3 separate regions of the Homo sapiens genome follow, and regions 1 and 2 are each linked to region 3. Evidence: promoter capture Hi-C in 16 types of primary human blood cells and fetal thymus (Javierre and others, 2016). All regions are on one chromosome and are shown on one strand. Each heading gives the region's core, a stretch centred on a gene start or on the middle of the fragment in contact. The rest is flanking DNA. Distances are from core to core; before and after follow the strand shown.

Evidence for each region. Contacts are between HindIII fragments. The CHiCAGO score rates a contact against its expected background, and 5 or more counts as called.
Region 1: a contact is called between a fragment that was not itself captured here and the fragment with the promoter of ZYX in region 3, in 1 of 17 cell types (naive CD8 T cells). The highest score is 5.1, in naive CD8 T cells.
Region 2: a contact is called between a fragment that was not itself captured here and the fragment with the promoter of ZYX in region 3, in 1 of 17 cell types (activated CD4 T cells). The highest score is 5.4, in activated CD4 T cells.

What each region holds. Positions count from the first base shown.
Region 1 is chr7:142,803,241-142,805,940 of GRCh38, forward strand. It overlaps TRB. Among named protein-coding and RNA genes, the nearest start is that of PRSS2, 34 kb to the left of the region's middle. RefSeq lists a cis regulatory region at 1,463-1,864. The HindIII fragment of the contact is 5,985 bases long and covers 1-2,700 here.
Region 2 is chr7:142,826,870-142,829,569 of GRCh38, forward strand. No RefSeq gene overlaps it. Among named protein-coding and RNA genes, the nearest start is that of EPHB6, 27 kb to the right of the region's middle. The HindIII fragment of the contact is 944 bases long and covers 950-1,893 here.
Region 3 is chr7:143,380,090-143,382,789 of GRCh38, forward strand. ZYX (zyxin) reads left to right here and starts at 1,256. Exons shown (of 10, transcript NM_003461.5): 1 at 1,256-1,320; 2 at 1,468-1,690; 3 at 2,159-2,358; 4 at 2,504-2,596. The coding sequence starts at 1,483. It overlaps FAM131B-AS2 (FAM131B antisense RNA 2), which reads right to left and starts at 936. Exons shown (of 2, transcript NR_161353.1): 1 at 177-936; 2 at 1-20. MIR6892 (microRNA 6892) reads left to right here and starts at 2,597; the gene lies at 2,597-2,700. It also overlaps a transcript of FAM131B not described here. RefSeq lists enhancers at 52-952, 76-165 and silencers at 666-1,695, 1,726-1,775. The HindIII fragment of the contact is 8,995 bases long and covers 1-2,700 here.

The DNA.
Region 1 (2,700 bases), core at 171-2,670, 580 kb before region 3:
GTAAAGCCTGGGGAAGAGTGATTTCTCAGGAGCGAGACACACTAAGTCAGGAGCAATGGGATATAGGGCCCAGTGGGGGCTGAAGTGCTATGTTCAGAGTAGCCCTTCCAATGGGCTTCTTCGTTTGATGGATGGAAACCAAACCACTCCAAACACAAGGTGTTAACTGCTCCTACTTGGGCAAAGACAGTTATCCTGTCAAGGTAAATTCTGCATACAGGCTGAATGCATTGTGGTAAAACACTACATGGAGGAAGAGGAGGAATGGGATTAAAGAAAAGGAGGCCTAGAACAGTGAGAGGGGCTGAGAGAGGCCATGTCGAAGTTAGTTGAGGAAGACTGTCAGGGGAGAGAAGAGAAGTCTGAAAGCAGAGAAAGGTTGGGAAAGAGGAGGGAGCCCTTTGTTGAGAGCCTGCTTGCTTCAGGCCTCAGGCTGGACGCTGCTACCTGTGCTGTCTGCATCTGCACAATGATCCCAGGAACAGGTATTATTTTCCCCATGTTATAGATGTGGAAACTGAAGATTACAGTTCAAATTACTTATGAGTTGTGAAACCGTGGCATGTTCTGCTGAAGATGGCAATTCTGGAAACTTTTTCCAAGTAGTTACCAGGATGGTGGGATTGCTCCTGGTATCTGGGTGATCCTAGAGCAGCTTCTCCCAAACTCCAGGCAGGGCCCATGGTAACACACTGAAGACACCTTAATGCCTTGGTGTCTTTGTTTCCCACGGCTGCCGTAACAAAGTACCACTGGTGGGTTTAAAACAATAAAAACTTATTCTCTCACAGTTCTGGAGGCTAAAGATACAACACCAAGATGTCAGCGGGTCATCCTGTATGACAGCTCTAGGGGAGAATCCTTTCCTGCTTCTTCCCATGTCTGATGGCTTCTGGCACTCCTTGGCTTGTGCCAGCATCGCAGCAATCTCTGCCTCTGTCTTCACATGGCATTTTCCCTGTGTCTCTGCATTTAAGCTCCCCTCTCCTTTCTCTTTTCAAGGCATGGTCTTAGGATTTAGGGCCCACCCTAAATCCAGAACAATTTTATTGAGAGATCTTAACAAATTATACCTGCCAAGTCCCTATTTCCAAATAAGGTCACATTCTGAGTTTCTGAGTGGGCATGAATTCTGGGGGAACACTCTTCTTCCCACTACACTGGGGATCTTGGAACTGGAGAAGAGGGTTCTCTGGTGGCAGCTTGCAAAGACCAGGAAAGGATGTGCTCACAGCAGGGATGGGGCCCAGGAAACTCATCACATGCCGGTCATTTCCATCAGTCGTAACTATCTCTAGACTGCTCAAAATGCAGTATAGTATTTTGTTGGCTATTGTTGTTACATATGTGCTGGTTTGTTTTTATATTGGCTAAAAAAAAGCCTAAAACAAAGGGGACAGGCTTTAGGCCCTAGACCAACATTCATGCTTCCCACTCCTTAGACCTGCGTGGAGGCAGCAGGCATATCCTTGTGGCTCCTCGCAAAGGTAGGACAGGAGGATGAGCAGCCGAGGGAACAAGGAAGCACTTCAGAGAGAGCAGAACTGTGGGGGCCAGAGGGCGCAGGCTAGGACTGGGGATATTGGAGGATAGTGGTTTGTGTGGGCAGAGCTGTGAGGGGCTGAGCAGCTGTAGTGCAAGATTAGAGTGGAGGTGGGAAGGGGGAAACACCTTGTAGAAGAAAGATAGTGTCTGTTAGTTTGATGGCCATCATCTTGGGGACGTGGAAAACGGAGGCATTAGCAGGTGGGAGGATGTGGGAGGAGTTTCTTGTTAGTACCCTAGAGTTTGCAATCAGACCCAGGTGAATGAATTCTCCTCTGGAGGATAAAAGGCCATGTGAATTTTACCCTCTCAGTCCAGGGGACTTGACAGAGATGGAGAGAGCTTCAAGCTCCATCTGGTCCTCCCAACACCCTACTTGACCCAGGGCAGGTTCCTCTTCCCAAGTTTTTACAGCCATTTCCTTGTCTCTCTCAAACAACACCCCCAACATTCAGCACGCATGCACTGGGAAGTGAATCTCTTCTGCCTCTACCTGCCTTTTTCTCTAGAATCGAAGTGGATTCTTCTGGGCCAATTCTGGGCATCCTCTCCATTCTTCCTCAGGTAACACTGAGAAAAGATGAGTTCGATGTAGGGCAATAATATAACTTACTGTAAGAATTGAGATACCATTGAAAATGAAAGGGGCCCATTGGCCACATGGGATGCTGGAACAAGAGGAGTAAACCAGGAATGGTCACAAGGCCCCTCCAGTGGAGAGGCTCTGAGGGAGTTTCTGGGTGCAGCATTATTCCTGCAAAGGGAGGTACTAAAGGGACTCCACACCAACCTGGACTTGTTGACTGGTTCAAACCTCAGGGCTGACCTAAGCATCATCCTATGAAGAAACCATGTGGACAGAATATAGGGCAAGGCAGGGACAACAGCATCCAACACAGGTGACACCCAGTGCAGAGCAAAGCATGCTTACTTATTGAAAAGAGTTACAAGAAAAGCATCTCTGGAAGAATGTCTAGGGTACCCCAAGTTCTCGCTGAACTTAGCATGGAGTAGCTCTTAAAGAGAAGAACTTCACCTGTGACCTTTACAGATTTATTTGGGAAATTGGAAGAAAAAGGGGGTCATCCAAATGGTTGTGTAATAAAATAACTTCTTTGTGGGGGAAATGGGATTCCCGTGAGCATCCCAGAGCCC
Region 2 (2,700 bases), core at 172-2,671, 550 kb before region 3:
AAAAAAAAAAAAAAGAAAGAAAGAAAGGCACAGGTCCACACAAAGACACAAATTTTCATAACAATTTTATTTGTAATAGTCAAAATTTGGAAAAAATCCAATTGCCTATTAATGGGCGAACTAATGCTGAAATTGTCATGTATCCACACAAAGGAAAATTAGCAATAAAAAGAATGAACTATTTAAATTTAAAACAACATAGATAAATCTCAAAATAATATGATGAATAAAAGTAAAGAAACAAAAAAGAGTACATAGTTTATAATTGCATTATATTAAATTCTAGAAAACACAAAGAAATCTATAGTAATAGAAGAAGCACTCTATCAGTGTTTGTCTGGGAACAGCATGGAGAGAAGGATGGAATTATAAAAAGCCACAAGGCTATTCACAATAGCAAAGACATGGAATCAAACCAGGTGCCCATCAATGGTAGATTGGATCAAGAAAATGTGGTACATATACACCATGGAATGGTACGCAGCCATAAAAAAAGAATGAAATTATGTTCTTTGCAGCAAAATGGATGCAGTTGGAGGCCATAATCCTAAGCAAATTAATCCAGGAACGGAAAACCAAATATCGCATGTTATCACTTAAAAGTGGGAACTAAACATTGAGCATACATGGATATAAACAATGGAACAATAGACATTGTGAACTACCAGAAGGGGGAGAGAGACAAGGGGAAGTGTTTTGAAAAACTACCTATCAGGCACTATCTTCTGTACCTGGGTGACAAGATCTGTACTTCAAACCTCAGTACAAACCTCAGTATTAGGCAATATTCCCATGTAACAAATCTGCACATGTTCTCCCTGTATCTAAAATAAAAGTTGAAATTTAAATAAATAAATAAATAGCGGGCCACAGCAAAACTTTTGGAGGTGATGTGTAAGTTCATTACATTAAGTTTTATGATGGTTTCCCAGGTGTTTGCGTATGTCAAAGCTTACCAAATTGTACATTTTAAAGATGTCTATTGTTTGTCAAGTGCATTTTAATAAAGCTGTAAAAGAAAGAATTATTTTTGATACAGTGTTAGGACAACAGAAAACCACTGAGAAAATTTAAGCAAGAGAATGTCAATAATTAATGCCACATTTTAACTAATTAACTGCAATTAATCACAATCAATCAGTAAGAAAAGGTTTTGTGCTGAAGATTTTCCAGAGAGATAAGTAAGCAAGTATATCATGCATGCAGTGGAGCAGGGCAGAGCCTCATAAAATCCCTCTTAAACGTGTCTGTTCTTTTGCCAAATTTCCATTCTGGTTGCCAGCTACCTTTTTCCTCCTCTTTCTTTCCACAGCCACTGCCATCCTCATTATAGCCCCAGACAATTCAGCTCTTGAAAGTGTATCCAGCAAAACAAAAGTGTAACAGCAGCTCAGCACCACTTGGAAAGCAGTTGCATAGCCACCTCTTTCTCTACAAGCTCAGTCCTTCCTGAGGTTGCCCTCTCACCTATTCCCCTACATCAAAAGTGACTCATCAAAGTATTCAGTAGACAAAATTAGTCTCTATCCAGGGAGAATTCACTACTTGGAAAGTAAGATGTTCTGTTTCTCATTACATACAAAAAAAAAAAAAGTTGATAAAATCACAGAATTCAGTTTGAGAGAGAGGAAGATACTAAATGTCATTTGTCATTCTGACCTTGAAGTCACATTGAGTCCAATTCAATCAGAAAAGTGCAAGTGAAAATTTGGATTTTTAATGAGACACCAGGACTAGAAATACTGACTTCAGGGGTCATCCGCAGAGAGAAAATAGTTGAAATGTTTGGAATGGATGAGATCTCCAAAGCAACAAGTGAAGAAAAAGGAACAAAGGTCCAAAAATAAAAACTGTTGAACATCCACACTTATAGGTAAAAGGAGGGGAAAAGTAAGCTTAAGAAATTAAGAAAGTAGTTCTAGAGGGAAGACAAGAAATGGGATGGTATCTTGGAAGTTCAGAGGAGACTGTGGGTACAAAGAGGTGGCAGCAGGATTTAAAAGAACTTTAAAAATTCAGTAAAATTAGGACTGAATGACTTCACCGATGTTGTTGACTAGAGGAGGAGAAAGTAGCAGATTCAGAGCACTCATTTGACAAGTTTAGGGGCAGAGCGAGTAAGGGAGAGGTTAAAGGGAATGGTAGAGTTGAATACAGTCTTTTATTCCAACGTATTTATAGTCTGATTATATAGAAAGCCAAGAGGAAGAACTACATAAAGACAGGAAAATTGAAGATGCTAAAGAAAGAAGATATTTGAGAAACAAAGAGGCATGTGGATTAATTATTGGACATCAAGAAGGGGGAACTTTTTTCCTCTGAAATAGGAAAAGAAGAGAAAATGCGTAAAAGATAGACCTGCACTGAGGAAGGCCAACATACATACAGAAAGAGGCTAGATCTAATGATCGGTTGAATGTAATGTTTTTAAAAACCCACCATTTCACCCATCAGATTGGCATAATTAAAAGAATCAATAGTATCTGATGTTGGCAAGCATGTAGGGAAATAACATGCTCTCATGCACAGCTGGAAAGTAAACTGCAACAGTCTTTATGGAGGGTAATTTGGCAGTGTTTATTGAAACTCCACATGGCCGGGCGCAGGGGCTCACGCCTGTAATCCCAGCATTTTAGGAGGCCAAGGCGGGTGGATCACAAGGTCAAGAGATCGAGACGATCCTGGCCAACATGGTGAAAC
Region 3 (2,700 bases), core at 6-2,505:
GCCTCAGGAGGCAGTAAAAGCTGACAAGAGGAGAGAAAATGAAGCGCCTACGGGTGCATACTGGACTAGCGGGCGAAAGGCCATGACTCCTTAGTTTGGAGAAAGAACTGGGGCCGAGATTGGGGAAGTTTCCCAGTGCAATTAAAAAAAAAAAAAAAAAGAACTAGAAGAATTACCCAGGTCTGGCTTCTTTCGTGTAGCCTGGGGCTGAGTCGCAGGCTGAGAAATCCAGTCTGGCCAGTAGGGGGCTCCACCAAGCGCAGTCTCAGAATGCCCAAGAGCTCCACCGTCGCCCGGGGTCTCCACCAAGCGCAGTCTCAGAATGCCCAAGAGCCCCACCGTCGCCCGGGGTCTCCAAGAGGAGTGGGTCGTGGTGGGCGTTGAAGGGCCGTAAAAGACGAGCAGCCCGCGTCCGCGTCCGTCCTCCCGGGTCTCCAGTCCGCAGGCGGCCGCCGCCTCGGCCCCGCCCTCCCACCTCCATTCCCGGCCCCGCGGACCCGAACGGTCCCTCTCGCAACCGATCTGCTGGCTGGGGCGCTGGGGATGCGAATTCCTAGAAGCCTTAAGAGGCTGCCCAGCGTTGGAAGTTCGTATCCCCAAGAATGCTGGAGGTTCCGGCTCACACACCCCCTCCGGGCACAGAGTCAGCTGGGGGGTGCTGGGAGGGAGAACGCCCCGCTCCTCACCCCCCATCCCCGTGCACCCTGGAGCCCAGCTCCATACGTTCGGCCACCCCAGGCGGACTCGGGGTGGCCGGGTAGCGGGTGGTGGCAGGAGGGGACCGGGTAACGGCAGGCCCGAGAGGAGGTCGCTGGGCCGGGCCGGAGGCGCACAGGGGCTGCGTGGCTACCTCGGCGGCACCCGCCCCACCTCCGCCGGCTAAGCCCGGAGGGGGACGGTGAGTCAGATCTCGGGCACCCGCGGGTCGGGCGGGGAGGGGGAGGCAGGTCAGGAAATGACATCAGAGGCCTGTGCTCAGGGAGTGGGGGTCTGAGCCGGGCTGGGGCGGCGGGGGCGGCAGTGAGTGGGGTGGGGGCGAGCGGACCTCGGCGGAGCCTCCGGCCTGAGGCAGGATCAGGGCCCCTTCCTGGGGGAGTTTCCTGCCTGGTCCGCCCTTCCCCGCTCTCCCCGCCCCCTCTCCGGGCCGCTCCTTGTATGGTCTGGGCGCCGCTCTCTCCCCGCCCCCTCTCTTCTCCCTCCCTCCTCCTTCCGTGTGTCCCTCCCCGCCCGGCTGGAGGCTGCTCCGGACCGGGACGCAGAGTCTGCGGACCCGGCGCCGAGGCGGCCACCCGAGACGCGGCGCGCACGCTCCGGCCTGCGGTGAGGCGCGGGGAGCGGCAGGGCGGCCCCACGGGGAGGGGGCGCGGGGCGCCGGGAGGGGGCGAGTGGGGGTCACCAAGGGGAGCTGGGACCGCCTGGGGCTCCTGAGCCCGGCTCCGCGCTGCGTAACCCGGCGACCCACCCCAGCAGCCCGGCCCGGCCATGGCGGCCCCCCGCCCGTCTCCCGCGATCTCCGTTTCGGTCTCGGCTCCGGCTTTTTACGCCCCGCAGAAGAAGTTCGGCCCTGTGGTGGCCCCAAAGCCCAAAGTGAATCCCTTCCGGCCCGGGGACAGCGAGCCTCCCCCGGCACCCGGGGCCCAGCGCGCACAGATGGGCCGGGTGGGCGAGATTCCCCCGCCGCCCCCGGAAGGTATGCGGCGGGGCTTGGGGAATGTACCCCGGCAGGAGCCGGGGTGGGGGGCAGTCGTTTCGGGAATTTGGGGATGTCTGGAAAGGTTGTTGCCGAGGGGGCTGGGCGCAGCCACCCTGTCCCGAGCAGATGTTCTTACCTCATCGTGGAGCTCGTGGCTGGGAGCCAGGGCTCCTGGGACCGTTCCAAGTCCCCCGCCTGGGAGTGGGAGTCGGGAATGTGGGGCACGAATCTTCCCCTCCGGGTCCGTTTTCCGAAGTGTAACGGGAGCTGCACCACTCCTCGGCAGTGCGCCCGGCCTTTCCTGACCTGGTACTCCCAGGGCGCCCTGCGCCCCTCCTTTGCTTCCCCACACGCTCTGGGACCCCTGAGAGAGTTCTTGGGTTAGGGGTTAGAGCGGTTAACTGAGGGGAGCTTGGGTGAGGGGTAGAGGGACCCCGGCCGACGTCTTTCTCCTTCCTACCCCAGACTTTCCCCTGCCTCCACCTCCCCTTGCTGGGGATGGCGACGATGCAGAGGGTGCTCTGGGAGGTGCCTTCCCGCCGCCCCCTCCCCCGATCGAGGAATCATTTCCCCCTGCGCCTCTGGAGGAGGAGATCTTCCCTTCCCCGCCGCCTCCTCCGGAGGAGGAGGGAGGGCCTGAGGCCCCCATACCGCCCCCACCACAGGTACGGAGGCCTGGGAGGGGCGGCTGCACTGGACACCCCCAAGGAGAGGAGAAGAGGGCCCTTTCTTCTTACCTCCCCTGCACCTCTGCCTTGGGGGTGGGGGGATAGAGGCATGGAATAGGTGCTCTGACCTCTGACCCTCTAGCCCAGGGAGAAGGTGAGCAGTATTGATTTGGAGATCGACTCTCTGTCCTCACTGCTGGATGACATGACCAAGAATGATCCTTTCAAAGCCCGGGTAAGGGACCGGAGAGTAGGAAAAGCAGGGCTCAGGGCCAGAGAGACTGGGCATAGAACTAAGGAGGATGGTGTCCTCCTGACTGCATCTCTCTTCCCTCTCCC